Regions from separate parts of the Homo sapiens genome. Here region 1 is linked to region 2. Evidence: promoter capture Hi-C in human tissues and cell types (Jung and others, 2019). All regions are on one chromosome and are shown on one strand. The core of a region is centred on a gene start or on the middle of the fragment in contact, and the rest is flanking DNA. Distances in the headings are between cores, read along the strand shown. Region 1 overlaps FEZ1 (fasciculation and elongation protein zeta 1). Region 2 holds the start of CCDC15 (coiled-coil domain containing 15).

Region 1 (2,804 bases), core at 33-2,532, 510 kb after region 2:
GTCCCAACTACTCAGGAGGCTGAGGTGGGAGGATCAATTGAGCCATGGAGATGGAGGCTGCAGTGAGGCTGCAGTGAGCCGTGATTATGCCACTGCACTCCAGCCTGGATGACAAAGTGAGATCCTGTCTAAAAAAAAAAACACCTTGCTAGCTGTTTGGATACTATTGACGTGAACTATGCTTTTCCAAGAAAAGTCATTCTTCCAAATGATTTATTCCCAGAATTGAGAAGATTTGAATCCAGAAAGGGGTCTGGCTATACCATTCAGCAAGCTGTTTCTTCCTCCTGCTTTTGGGAAGAGTGTGTCTCTAGGACTATAACATGAAAGCTTGAAACTTGAAAAGAAATGCAGAAAACTTTCCCCAAGGCCTATAACATTGCTAAATCTTGCTGCACAGTGAAGTATTCTGAATGATGATTAAAATTATGTGGAGCCCTTGATTCCAATAATGACTATTAACCAGTGTATTTTATTAAAGTGTTTCAAATGACCCCATTCATAGAAAAGGTAATTTTTACAGCATATTTAGCCCTTTGCATAATATTTTCCTCCCCTTACCACTATTGTTTGACATGAGTGGTTGCCCCCCTGACAAAAATTAAGAGAACAAAGATACATTTTTACCTTCAGACAAAAAGTAAAAAAAAAAAAAGAAATTCACAACAACTGTGTCCCATTTTTTTTTTTTTTAGACACAGGATCTCGCTGTGTCACACAAGCTGGAATGCAGTGGCACAATCATGGCTCAATGCAGCCTCTAACTCCTTTGCTCGAGTGATCCTCCTGCCTCAGCCTCCCAAGTAGCTGGGACTACAGGCAGGTGCCACCACACCTGACTAAGATTTTTTTTGTTTTGAATTTTTTTAGAGATAGGGGTCTCACTGTGTTGCCCAGGCTGGTCTCAAACTCCTGGCCTCAAGCAATCCTCCCACCTCAGCCTCCCGAGTGGGATTACAGGTGTGAGCCACTGTGCCTGGTAACTATGTCCCTTTTATGCTTATGAACAACCAGGAAACATCTGCGTGGATTAAGTCAATGGCTGTGCATTCCCATAGGGAGATGCACTAGGGCATGCAGCCAACACATATTTGTTGAAAGAATTAATGAACAATTGAAAAAGAGAGGACTGAGAGCAGTACTATCATCTAGATTCAGTCCACTTCCACAGGTAACTTAGCTATTTAGTCACCTGGAAAAGAGGAAGATGTGACTGGGCATGGTGTCTCATGCCTGTAATTCCAGCAATTTGGGAGGCCAGGGTGGGAGGGTCACTTGAGCCCAGCCTGGGCAACATAGTGAAACTCTGTCTCTACAAAAAAAATGAACAAAATTAGCCAGGCATGGTGGTGCACACCTGTAGTCCCAGCTACTCAGGAGATGGAGGTGGGAGGATTGCTTGAGCCAGGGAGGTGGAGGCTGTAGTGAGCCATGACTGTTGCCACTGTACTCTAGCCTGGGTGACATAGTGAGATCCTGTCTCAAAAATATGAAAGACATAATTCACTATCCTGGACTTCCAATTTCCTCTTATCCAGACAACCACTATCTGCTATTAAATAAAGGTTATAAGGTAAAAGGAGACTGTGTTTTACATCACAGGAATAGAATAGATTGATGAATCGAAAGCCCCAGTAAAAGTGGTAAATTGTGAAAAAAATAATAATGCCTCCTACAGACATATTAACTCAAGCAAATTATTTTGACCTAAAAATGTAAATGTACATTTATTTATTCACCAAGTTCCTAGTGTAGGACCAAGCTTACAATGAAACTCTGAGTAGAGTTCCACAGTCTCTCTTGCATCATCCACATAATAACTTTTTTTTTTCTTTTTTTAAACAGAGTCTCACAATATCACCCAGGCTGGAGTCCAATGACATGATCAAAGTCCACTGCAGCCTCCCTTTCCTGGGATCAGGCAATTCTTCCACCTCAGCCTCCCAAGTAGCTAGGAACATAGGTGCACACCACCACTCATGGCAAACTTTTTCATTTTTTTGTAAAGATTGAGTCCAATACTCCCTCTTTATCTTTACCCAGGCTGGCTTCTAACTCCTAGGCTCAAGTGATCTTCCTACTTCAGCCTCCCAAAGTGCTGTGCTTACAGGTGTGAGCCACCACACCCAGCCCATAACATAATTTTTAAAATGATTTCCTGTTTCCATTTCTTTATAGTAGAAGGTGGGTACACAGGAGATTGGGCACAAATTTATCAGCCCTTCCTCCTCAAACCCTACTAAAATGAGAGTCAAGGGATCAAAAAAGAATAACCCAAAAGGGACAAAGTGAACAGGAGAAAAGGCAACAGCAAGAGAAATGCCAGAAAACAGACGCCGGCCCAGCAGGCTCAGCAGGGTTAAACTTGGCGAGAGCAGGCTGCCCAAGGTAAAGGGGGTCACACAGCAGATACTGAATGGCTCAGGAATTGCAGACCCCGAGGGGCAGCATGGCGGGGCTATGTAAGGAAGATTTGCTGGTATTCTTCATCAAGAATAATGAGACCCAAGTGTCTTCTTCCAACCCAGATAAAAAGGGACTGCATCCTCTCAGCTCAAAAGGACTGTAGACTTCACTCTGAGCAGGTTGAACTGGAGGTTCTGGACTCAGAGCACCAGGCCACCTAAAAGTGAGGGTGAGGGTTCTCACCAAAAACAGAGAGAGGATGTAAGACTCTACAGAATGACTCACCAGACAGACCTCTGGCCTCCTTCCCTGAGTAGGCTCCAAGGACACTGGCAGCTGGTTTATTCTGTCCATCAAGCCATTGGAGAACACCTCTCTATGGATGCTATAAGTCTACA
Region 2 (3,068 bases), core at 133-2,632:
CTGCTCAGGATGAAACCCCTAGTTTTCCTTGACATCTCTCCCTCACACAATCCATATCCAAACCTTCAACAGATCCTGAAAGTTTTGCCTCCCAAATAGATACAGAATCCAACCACTTATCATCATCTCCACCACTACCTCCTTGATCCAAGACATCACAATCCCTTAACTGAATTATTGCAATAGCCACCTAATTGGTCTTCTTTACAGTCTATTCTCACTACAGCATTCGGAATTATTATTTTTTTAATTTTGTCACATTATGGTGTTCCTTTGCTCCAAACCTTGCTCCAGTGGCTCCCCATCTCAACACCTATGGTGGCTTACGATGTTTGATCGGATTGCCTGCTTGACCTACTGTCTCAGCATTCTTCCACTCTCCCTCTGCTCCAGTCACACTATCCTCCTGACTTTTTCTCAACCAGGCAATGCTTCCACCTTGGGGCGTTTATACTTGCTGTTATATCTGGAACATGTTTATAAAGCCTCCGTTGAAGAGCACAGTGGCTTCTTCCATTAACTCATTTAAGTCTTTGCTGAAAAGTATCTCAGTGCAGCTTCTCTGGACGTTCTAATATTTCATCCCTCCAATCCCCACCCTGCCCACCACACTCCCTATCCGCTTTCTTTGCTTTTACTCCACATCACACACATTTACTTACTCATTGTTTATTCGCTTATTTCCCCTCACTCTATTGTGAATTCCCTGAGCAGGGATATTTGTTTCGTTCATAGCTATGTATCTCCGGTGCTTGGAACAGTACTGGTTTATAAAAAGTTAGTAGTAATGTATGTTAATCGAATGAATAAATTATCCTACAGAGATAATTGAGTGTCTCTGGATTACAGCAGAGCTTGCAGCAGAGAGGGAGACCACTCAACAGGCCGTGATGTCCAAATATAATAAGATGTATGAAACAGTACTGTAAAATTAGCTGCACAAAGGATCCGAAAAATTTGTTAGCTTAGTTTGTTTCTCCAGGAAGCCGTGCCAGGCTCGCCTCCCTCTTTCATTCTTTTCCCGTGATTCCCTCTACTGGGACTCCTGACCCTCCTAGTCGCCAGATCACAGGCCCAACGCATCCCTTTCCGGAGGGATTTAGGAAGTCTCGGCGTTGGTCCAGGAACGACAGTCCCACCGCGCCTCACATGGCGCATTACCCAGCGACTCCGCTTACCCACACGTCCCCGCCCCCTCAGCCGGACAGGAAGAGGAAATGACGATACCTCGGGCGCTCGAAACTCCACCTCTCACGCCTTCCCAGCTCCGGGAGGGGACGCGGGCTCCGGAAAGGGCGGGCATAAGGCTACGGATGGGCGGGACGGAGCAGCCCACCGCAAAGTGGCGGTCTACTTGAGGCGGTTACCTTAGTACTCCGAGTAGACTGAGTCTGTGGCGAGCTGCGGGCCGATTCCTGGCCAGTGCCATCTCAGCCGGAGCAGGCCTCGGGGCCTCAGAAGCAGGCTTTTATCTGGCCCGAGGCTCCCAGCCGTTCAGCGCGTCTTCCCATAACCTATACCGATTATTGGGACTCTCGGCTGCAGACACAGGTCCCCGCCCCTCCCTCTTTCTCCGGGTTGCAGCTGTCATTCCTCCCTTCCCGCCTCGCTGCGCCCACAGCTGAGGACAGTCTTCGTTCTCTCATTCCCATCCTTTCTCTTCCCTCTCATCGCCATTTCTTCTAGAAGGCAACTTAAAAACCTTTCTTTGCCTCTTTATTTCTTCCCATTTCTCTTCCCTTCTTTTCTTCCTTTTTCTCTAGAATCCGTGTGTTTCCACTTCATGCCAGGCTTCTGCCTCCAGGGCTTCTCTCCTTTTCACGGGCCTGTGGCTCATGTGTTAGGAGGTTGAACTTTTAATGCAGTCATTTGAAGATTTTAAGCTTTTTCTTTCTCCTAATCAGGAGTCACAGATGCTGGGAAGTATGGCCCGAAAGAAACCTCGAAATACCTCAAGGTTGCCCCTGGCTTTAAACCCCCTGAAGAGCAAGGACGTGTTGGCAGTGCTGGCTGAGAGGAACGAGGCTATAGTACCAGTTGGGGCATGGGTGGAACCTGCCTCACCAGGTAGTTCGGAAATCCCAGCATATGTGAGTGTCAGTTTGATCCAAATATGGTGGGGTTCCCCACCACCCTTTTTATTAGCCTTCTCTAATCCTGGGTGCTTAAAGATGAACAGTCCGAGGATGCTGTTTCTATTCTGCCATAAATAGTTTATGCTCTTGCATTAGGATTATAGAACAAGTATTTGCCAAAACTTGACTGCAGCTTTAGTTGGCATAATCAAATATTTATTACTCACCTACTATAATATATAGAGCATAATCTACATGGAACAGGTTATATAGATATATATCTGTATATCAGTTTACTTCAGACTCTTGATTGCTTGTTATGCCCAAGACATAAGCACTATCTACATCTTCCAGACACTGCAACTTAGTATGGATGATAGTTGGCATACTTCAAGTAACATTAATTGGTTGCTTAAGGTTTATGATAAATTTTGTAATGAGGATTCAGGCAAAATGGAGTAATAGAATAAAGGAGAAAGAGATGAACTCTGATAATCTGAGAAAGTCTAACTAGAAATTCCATGGTTTCTGATAGTCTTTCACCAAACTGTGCCCCTTAGCTATTTGTTCAAATTTAACTTGGCACTTACCACATTGTGTTATAGTAGATTGTTTATATATCTTTTCCTGATGCAGTGTGAGCTCCTTGAGCGTAGAGAACAAATGTCATTTATCATCACATTCCCACTTTTATCTTAAATACTGCCTAATCAATATAGACACTCATGAAGTATTTATGAAAGGCACAAAATGTCTTCTGTATGTGTAGACAAGGTGCTGAACATGGATGAAAAAAGGATGAGATATGTTCCCTCAGTGTACTTGATCTCAGAAGAGAAATGAGATGTGTTTAAATGTTAAAGTAATGCAATATACTATATTCATTTTATTTATGTTTGCACATATGTATGTATATTCATTGATTTATTCCTACCCTGCCTATTTCCAAAAAGGATTTTAAGAGTCTAGGTGGTATCTCTATCTAAGTTCTAA

The links. The method cuts DNA at HindIII sites, captures the fragments that hold promoters and counts their contacts. A contact is called where the count stands out against the background at its distance.
Region 1: a contact is called between a fragment that was not itself captured here and the fragment with the promoter of CCDC15 in region 2, in 4 of the 25 tissues and cell types used here (dorsolateral prefrontal cortex, heart left ventricle, hippocampus and 1 more).

The regions. Positions count from the first base shown.
Region 1 is chr11:125,466,358-125,469,161 of GRCh38, forward strand. All of the region lies in intron 3 of FEZ1 (fasciculation and elongation protein zeta 1), which reads right to left. Among named protein-coding and RNA genes, the nearest start is that of FEZ1, 29 kb to the right of the region's middle. The HindIII fragment of the contact is 4,328 bases long and covers 1-2,804 here.
Region 2 is chr11:124,952,820-124,955,887 of GRCh38, forward strand. It overlaps CCDC15 (coiled-coil domain containing 15), which reads left to right and starts at 1,383. Exons shown (of 16, transcript NM_025004.3): 1 at 1,383-1,551; 2 at 1,905-2,090. The coding sequence starts at 1,914. It overlaps CCDC15-DT (CCDC15 divergent transcript), which reads right to left and starts at 1,172. Exons shown (of 3, transcript XR_948134.3): 1 at 663-1,172. RefSeq lists an enhancer at 1,043-1,586. The HindIII fragment of the contact is 10,363 bases long and covers 1-2,564 here.